3 separate regions of the Homo sapiens genome follow, and regions 1 and 3 are each linked to region 2. Evidence: promoter capture Hi-C in human tissues and cell types (Jung and others, 2019). All regions are on one chromosome and are shown on one strand. The core of a region is centred on a gene start or on the middle of the fragment in contact, and the rest is flanking DNA. Distances in the headings are between cores, read along the strand shown.

Region 1 (2,700 bases), core at 76-2,575, 210 kb after region 2:
ATGCATATTCTTTTTACTTCTAAAAAGCTACTATCGCATTTATGCTTATCTCATTCTCCCAAGACCCCAGTCAAGGGATTGAAGAAATTATTTATTTATTTTATATATATTTTTTGAGACAGAGTTTTGCTCTTGTTGCCCAGGCTGGAGTACAACGGCACGATCTCAGTTCACTGCAACCTCCGCCTCCTGGTTTCAAGCGATTCTCCTGCCTCAGCCTCCCGAGTAGTTGGGACTACAGGAGTGCACCACTACGCCTGGCTAATTTTTTTGTATTCTTAGTAGAGATGGGTTTTCACCATGTTGGCCAGGCTGGTCTCGAACTCCTGACCTCAGGTGATCCGCCCGCGTCTTTCTCCCAAAGTGCTGGGATTACAGGCGTGAGCCACCGCGCCCGGCCGATTGAAGAAACTGTTATAGAAAGCTGTTCATGGAACAAGCCAAGCTCATTTCTGCCTCAGGGCCACTGCACTTGCCTTTCTCTTTGTCCAAAACGCTCTCCCCTTTGATATTTTTCACCTTGTTCCTTTATTTCAATCAAGTCTCCACTAAAATGTCATCTTCTCTGTCACTCTAAAAAGTCCCCCATACATACTCTCCAACTTCCCACTTTCACTGTTTTATTGCTATTCACAAATGTTATACATTTATCACTAGCTGACTTGTATCTAGTTGTTTACTGTTCATTTCCCCAACTACAATTGAAGCAAAGACTTTGTTCACTTAGTACTGTGCCTAGCATAGACTAAGCCCTCAATAAGTATTTACTGAACTAATGAATGACTCTAACAAGGTACACAGAATATAGCTGATTTGCCCACAGTTACACAAAACTAGCGACTCATGGTAACAAACCTCACTGCCGCTTCCCGCTACAATGCAGGAGCTCAGAGGACTTCGGAGGGAACTTGGCAAAGAACGGCTGAAAGCGGCACGGATAGAAGAGGAAGTGAGCGAGGGGACTGGACAGTTAGAGCACCACTCCTACCTAGCGATACGATTTTACGGACTGAGGCTATAGAGGCAGCCCCGAAATCGAGGTGTGTGCGTGTGTGCGCGCTTCGGAAGCCTTGGGAAGGCACGAGGACGACAGGGTCTTCCATTCTTTTTCCCGCTCCAGGCCTCAATTTACCGATCCGTAAAGCGAAAGGGGCCAATAGCATATAAGGCCCCTTCCAGATCTGACGCTTTTTAATTTCCTATCCCACCTGGAGCAACCCTTCCGTGCCGCTGACCCGCTTCAACTTACCTCTCGCCTGCTCAGCTAAGAGTTCCCAGGCCGCTGCCGGAGATCGTGCTTCCGCCCCACGCCGAGGAAACGCCTGCGCCCGCCGCCAGGAAGGACCCCGCAGACGCCGCTGTCGCCTTTCTGCCCGGGAGGACAACCCTCTGCCTGAGGACCAGTTCCGAGGTATGCCCGCCGCGGACTGGCAAGGCGGAGTAGCGGGTCCCCAAGACGAGTAGCCCAAGACGTGGGCTGCTCCAAAGAGGGTGAGAGCTGAGGATGAACGAATCTGATCAGGCGCCTCGGGACCACCCTGAAAATGGGGGGAGGGGCCTTCGGGCAGATCACGTGGTCAGGCTGTTAGCGCAGTTGCTAGGCAACCACAGCTGCGGGCGTGGTCTGCGCGGGGTTGCCCTCCTGTTCTGGTTTATCAGGGGATCCCCAAAGAAAGCAAGGGGACCAAGGCCGGGACTGCTGGGGTGAAGGTCCGGGAGGCTGAGTAAGGGGACGGAAGGGTTAGTTCTATGTATTAAATGCCTGGGGAGGGCTGAGAACTGGACACCTGATTTCGGTTACTGGCCACCCCAGCCCCTTCTTGGCGTTCAGATTCCCTACGTTGGGGTAGGGTGGCTATGGGATTGGTTGGGGACTTCCTGCTTCCTTGCGCTAGGGCTGTTGGTGATGACCCCGCCACAAAATCTAGCTCAACTCACTAGGAGTTTGCAGTTCAGAGAGGTCCCACAAGTAAATGCCAGAGCCACGACTAGAACCCACGTAGAGAATCTCTCTGCAGTGGCTCACGCCTGTAATCCCAGCACTTTGGGAGGCCGAGGCGCGCGGATTACTTGAGGTCAGGATCGAAAATTGCTTGAACCCCGGAGGCAGAGGTTGCAATGAGCCAAGATCGCGCCACTGCACTCCAGCCTGGGCAACAGAGCCAGAAAAAAAAAAAAAGAAAAGAATATCTCTGTAGAAATGATCAGTCAGCCTCAGATATGCAGAAACTACAGAAGTACAGTGATAGAACTAAAGGCATTGCCCAGGTACCTAGGGACCTCTGTTCCAGCCCTGGGCTGGACAGAGGGATTTGGGGATGGGGTCATTGAGCTCCTTCCTTTGCCCCTTCTACTTGATTTCCTGCTCAGTCATTGCATCTGGTTTGGGTGAAAGTCTCCTTCCTCATTAAAGACATTCAATGAAGAATGAAACTTTATCCCCGAGCTCAAGGGTAACTAACAAGAGTTCTGCCTTTGTGTGAGGTCCCCTGTCGAAACGACTTGCTGTAGAACAATCCTATGGGGGAAGAGTGAAGAAACTGAATTCTGAGATCCCAATGCCTCCTCGACTGAAGCACCAAAATTAAAAATATTTTTAGAGGCAAAGAGCAAAATTAAGACAGAACTCCAAATTGAAAGTCAGGACTCTGTATTCTATTTTCAGGGACAAGTCTTGTGTAAGTCCTCACTGTGAAATTC
Region 2 (2,700 bases), core at 159-2,658:
GTGTGGAACTCTTGGCCTCAAGCAATCCTCCCACCTCAGCCTCCCAAAGTGGTGAGATTACAAACATGAGCCACTGTGCCCCACCTCATGGTACATTTTGATTCTATTACTAGCCTTTCAAAATTGGTTTTGAGAATAACAAAGAACCCATTTTTCTAACCTGTCCATTGTAATAAATGCCAGAGGATAAAGCCTTTGATGGACAGACAGGTGGCTCTCACAGTAGCAATCAGGTATCCAGGATCTCCTCTAATCCATGAATGCAGAGACAACTCTAGCTTCTACAGCATTTAGTGATGATTCAAGTAAATTTTATTTTTAAGCTTGTATTTAAAAGGAAACAATTTGTTAGACAGCCACAGGTAGCACCTACAACCAATTTAATCTGTAATAACCAGTCTAATAAGTGTGTATGTTGGAGGTGTGGGAAGTGAAGATGAAGGCAGCAGAAATGATCAGGTTGAAAAAGTGGACATCTGGGTGACTTACTATGTAAACATAGCTTAAAGTACACATTTCTGAATACCTTGCTTCTAACAGGCTAAGGACTAAGTTTCTCTCTCTTCGTTAAAGCTCTGATCTCTCTCATACCCTCCTTCCCACCACCAATGATTACTGTAAATACTGTAATGGATCAAGCACGACGTTTGCTTCAGTTCTGCGTGGGCATGAAAAGACTTCTACCACCAGCTTACCTTTTATGGACTCCTACATCCATATAAGAATCAAAAGGGCACTTCCTGCAGGCTTCTGTCATGGGACAGCCCTGGGAACTGCCTTGTAATAGGCACAGACCTCCCAAGAGCATTTTAATACCCCCAGTGAACACTGTAAACGGATGGAAATGGAATTGGTCGTCAGATATTTATGATAACATTCCCATTCTGACATTTCAATGCCTTCGGAAGAACCCTCCTCGGCTCACTCACAAGCATCGGAGAGGGCCTTGTCCCCAAGAATACGAGAAAGCCCTTCCTCTCTGTGTACCTGCAGCTTTCAGGCTTCCCACACCTGGTTGGGGAGCAACCTCCTTCCCCCGCCGCCCAGATATCAGAGGAGTATACCTCTCCCAGGTGAGACCACTGAGCCTCTGGGATACCCGGTAGGGGAGGGAGGGTGCAAAGTACTGACAGGTCCTCAGATGCTGGCCAGAGGCTGAAGGAATGTGTCCAGGCTACTCACCAGGAAAGCAGAGAGGATCCCCTGCAGAGCGTCCAGCTTCTCTTCTTCCTCCTCCTCCTGCAGGATACCCAAGATGTAGGCTCCATAAACGGCTCGGTCCACTCCCAGTGCCTCCAACCGTCCGTCCAGCCAGGAGCCAAAGCCGCCGCCTCCGCCATCGCCTTCGCCAGGGGCTATCGCGGCCACTTCGCTGGGCGCCGCCATCTTGGGGTCAGGGTCCTGCAAGCCCCTAGGGCGCCTACCGCAGTGCCTGACGGGCCGCGCCGCAGGTCCACCGCGCATGCCTGAAGAGGAAGCCCAGGCCCGTAAGTGCAAAGAGCGCAGCCGTGTCGGCCGGCTTGAGAGTTTTGTGCTTTCTAGATGAAGCGCGTCTTCGCATACGTGCGGTCGCGTGATCTCACAAGATGCTTGGCATGTGAGTATTCTTAACAGACTCATTCTACAGTTCGGGAAGTTGAGAGAGGTGCAGTAATTTGGCCAAAGTCACGCGGCTAATAACTACCCAGGACTGGAGCTCAGCGTGGATGCCATCGCTTCCTCCACCCGACCGAGCTGCCTTCCCCGCGCTTTCGGGGGATGCTGGCCGCCCACTCCCACACAGCTGTCTGGCAAGAACCTCCTGACAGCCTGGAATACCCTCGTCGTCGCTACCGACGGCTACCACCTTCACCTGTACAAGCCCTTCCCTGTCAAAGTAAAGGTTGCAGAAAACCTTCCCTGATTCCATGGTAGGCACTCAGTAAATAAACAGGCAACCTCAAGTTATTTCTTCCACTCATTGATTCAACGCGTGCACGGGACTATTCTTTGAGAAGCGTACCCCACCCTCTGCTAGGCACTGTGCCAAAAGCTTTTCATGCATTATCTCTTGTAATCCTCCCTACAGCCCTGTGGGGAGATGCTTTTATTGTCCACATTTTAAAGATAAGGAGACAGGCCGGGCGCCATGTCTCACGCCTGTAATCCCAACAGTTTGGGAAGCCGAGGCGGGTGGATCACCTGAGGTCAGGAGTTCGAGACCAGCCTGGCCGACATGGTGAAACCCCGTCTCTAGTAAAAATACAAAAATAAGGCCGGGCACGGTGGCTCACTCCCGTAATCCCAGCACTTTGGAAGGCCAAAGTGGGCAGCTCACCTGAGGTCTGGAGTTCGAGACTAGCCTGACCAAAATGGAGAACCCCCGTCTCTACTAAAAATACAAAATTAGCCGGGCGTGGTGGGACATGCCTGTAATCCCAGCTACGTGGGAGGCTGAGGCAGGAGAATCGCTTGAACCCAGGAGGCGGAGGTTGCGGTGAGCAGAGATCGTGCCATTGCACTCCAGCCTGGGCAACAAGAGCGAAATTCCGTCTCAAAACAAACAACAACAACAACAAAAGCCAGGTGTGGTGGCGCGGGCCTGTAATCCCAGCTACTCAGAATCGCTGGAACCCGGAAGGCGGAGGTTGCAGTGAGCCAAGATCGCGCCGCTGCACTCCAGCCTGAGCGACAGTGAGACTCCATCTCAAAAACAAACAA
Region 3 (2,700 bases), core at 41-2,540, 230 kb before region 2:
CACCCTGCACCAAGTACTTTTACACAAAAATTAGTGAGACTTCCTACTCACAAGGGGGTTGAAACAATTTTTTAATTAAATATTCAGACTGATCACATACTTAATTTAAGTATGAAAGGAGTGCACAAAAGTAGAAAACATCATCCTTGGCTTCAAGGAAACTTCAAAGGTCTACAGCAGTTAAAAAAAAAAGCAAGACTTGAGGGACTGGGAAATAAACCTGAAAGTCAGGAACCATGTCTTATCTACTCTCCATGTCTTAGGGTATTTACTGCTGGTATAACAAGAATGTAGTGTTAGGTCAGTAAATATGTGTTGGTTGTCTAAATGTACTCATCGAACCTTCTAAACAGGGTGAGATAGGAAATAATATCAGACCCCATTCATTTTTCCTAGGAGCTAAACTTTTGTCTGTCACCAAAGAATCAGCCAAATCATCAAATAGTACTTACACAATGTAACAAAGAAACTTCAGGCACCATTTCTGGGCTACACCTATTGACTAAATGTATTTCACAGAAAAATAAAAATTTTGAACTACATTCCATTTCAAAGCTGACAAAAGGTTATAAAACAATTTCCAGAACTGAATCCAGTCTAAATGCTACAAAATACAACTATCATTCACTCTTGCTTTATTCTGAATTAAACATATCCTCTGTTTCTATAATAAACAATTGTTCATAATATTTCTCATCAGTAGTGCTTTTTTTGTGTTGTTTCCTTCAGATATCTTGTCAACATTATCTTTTCTTCAGGTCTTTTATTTTTTAATACTAATAATTATCGGCCATATATAATAACTTTTTTAAAATTTCTGAAATATTTTAACAAATACTAAAGGAGAATGAAATGTGAATAAGAAAATGGGTACAAAAATAAACTCAGTTTACAAAGTACAATTTAATATCCTGCCACAGATAACTTCATTCCAGAGTCTGCATGCCCTATTCTCCAATCTATTCAGTAACAAGACATCAGCACTGGAGCACCAAGAACTGCAACTTTTGTTGGCAAAAGCCTTGCATGGGTCAAAATAATTTTTAAAGCTTTGACAAAAAAGCCCAAAAGGACCAGGCTTAAAATTTTAGTGGATGGTTGCATGTGAGATATGTTAAGAGTCCTAAACTCAAATCAAAAGGAAAGTTGACAATGAACTAGTCAATGTGAAGAACTTACAAAAGCATAAGCCCAGAAATCACATGCGATGCCTACTGTTTACACTAGAGTGACAGGGCTTTTTTGAATGGTTATTTATATCAAAGGTTTAGTATGGTCAAAGAAATCTGTCATAAATTGCCTCAATATGCAATAAATGTGGATATATTCTAGGTTAAATTATGTGGGTACTATAGAAAGAGGTATGTGAGAGAAACCAGCACAATGCCTGCATGTACACTGCTGAATCCGACACTAGGAAGTAAACAGTCAGTTATGAAACAAACTCAATTCTTAATGTTGGAAACAGAATAAGGCTCCATTCTTTTTGGAGAATAAAGATACTAATCATTTAAAACAGATGGACTTTGCACCAACAATGTAAATATACTTCACATACACAACTGTACACTTAAAAATGATTAAGATGCTAAATTTTATGTTATGTGTTTTGGAAAGGGTGAATTTTATTTTATTTATTTATTTATTTTAAACAGAGGGTCTTGCTCTGTCACCCAGGCTGGAGTGCAATGGCCCAATCATAGTTCACTGCATCCTTCAAATCCTGGGCTCAAGTGATCCTCCCACCTCAGCCTCCCTAGTAGCTGGGACTATAGGTGTGTGCCACCAAGTCCAGCCAATTAATTTTTTTTTTTTGTAGAGATGGGGGTCTTGCTATATTGCCCAGGCTGGTCTCAACTCCTGGCCTCAAGTAATCCTTCTGCCTCAGCTTCCCAAAGTGCTGGGATTTCAGGCGCTAGCCACTGCACCCGGCTATGTTATCCGTTTTTTAACAATTAAAAAGAAAAAAAACCTTCAAATGAGCTTTAAATTTCCCTTGAATTTTTAAATGAATAGATTTATGAGTTATTGAGTACTTACTATATATACTTGTTACCATGGAGATGGAGGCAAAATATGGATAAAACCTAACTCCTCTTTTCAAGAAGCTCAAAGTTTAAAGGGAACCAAAATTCTAAACTGTTTTTTTTTCGTGTGTGTGTGAGACAGAGTCTCACTCTGTCACCCAGGCTAGAGCGTAGTGGTGCGATCAAGGGTCACTGCAGCCTCAACCTTCCGGGCTCAGGCAATCCTCCTACCTTAAACCTCTTAACTGGGACCACAGGCATGGACTACCAAGCCCAACTAATTTTTGGGGGGTGGGGTGTAGGGGGAGATAGAGATGGGGTCTATGTTGCCTAGGCTGGTCTCAAACTCCTGGGCTCAGGTGATCCTCCTGCCTCAACCTCCCAAAGTGCTGAGGTTACAGGCATAAGCCACAGCACCCTGCCTAAAATCTCCTTAAAAACAAAAATTGAAAATAACTTTGGATCATCCAAAGTAGGTGAGTAGCCATTTACCTATCCTTTCTTAAACACATTATCTATCTCTTCTCCCTCCTTTCTCTCTGCAGGTTCTAGTTGTACTTTAAAGTCTCTGATGCTTAACATAAAAAATTCTGGGATTCAAACAGATTTGCTAGCCACTATGAACCAGCCCCACCTTGTGTGCCTGAACAAAGAGAATAACAATCAACAATGT

What was found. Contacts are between HindIII fragments. The study calls those that stand out against the background at their distance.
Region 1: the fragment with the promoter of EFTUD2 here is called in contact with the fragment with the promoter of CCDC43 in region 2 in 1 of the 25 tissues and cell types used here (hippocampus).
Region 3: a fragment that was not itself captured here is called in contact with the fragment with the promoter of CCDC43 in region 2 in 1 of the 25 tissues and cell types used here (mesendoderm cells).

Annotation. Positions count from the first base shown.
Region 1 is chr17:44,898,120-44,900,819 of GRCh38, forward strand. It overlaps EFTUD2 (elongation factor Tu GTP binding domain containing 2), which reads right to left and starts at 1,326. Exons shown (of 28, transcript NM_004247.4): 1 at 1,250-1,326. It overlaps DNAAF19 (dynein axonemal assembly factor 19), which reads left to right and starts at 1,610. Exons shown (of 4, transcript NM_213607.3): 1 at 1,610-1,740. The HindIII fragment of the contact is 11,041 bases long and covers 868-2,700 here.
Region 2 is chr17:44,688,368-44,691,067 of GRCh38, forward strand. It overlaps CCDC43 (coiled-coil domain containing 43), which reads right to left and starts at 1,409. Exons shown (of 5, transcript NM_144609.3): 1 at 1,183-1,409. The coding sequence starts at 1,386. It overlaps LOC105371792 (a long non-coding RNA gene), which reads left to right. Exons shown (of 4, transcript XR_007065769.1): 4 at 574-646. LOC124904010 (a long non-coding RNA gene) reads left to right here and starts at 1,414. Exons shown (of 2, transcript XR_007065770.1): 1 at 1,414-1,487; 2 at 1,628-1,943. RefSeq lists enhancers at 1,142-1,731, 1,400-1,539. The HindIII fragment of the contact is 3,238 bases long and covers 1-2,700 here.
Region 3 is chr17:44,459,550-44,462,249 of GRCh38, forward strand. All of the region lies in intron 3 of GPATCH8 (G-patch domain containing 8), which reads right to left. Among named protein-coding and RNA genes, the nearest start is that of GPATCH8, 43 kb to the right of the region's middle. The HindIII fragment of the contact is 7,792 bases long and covers 1-2,700 here.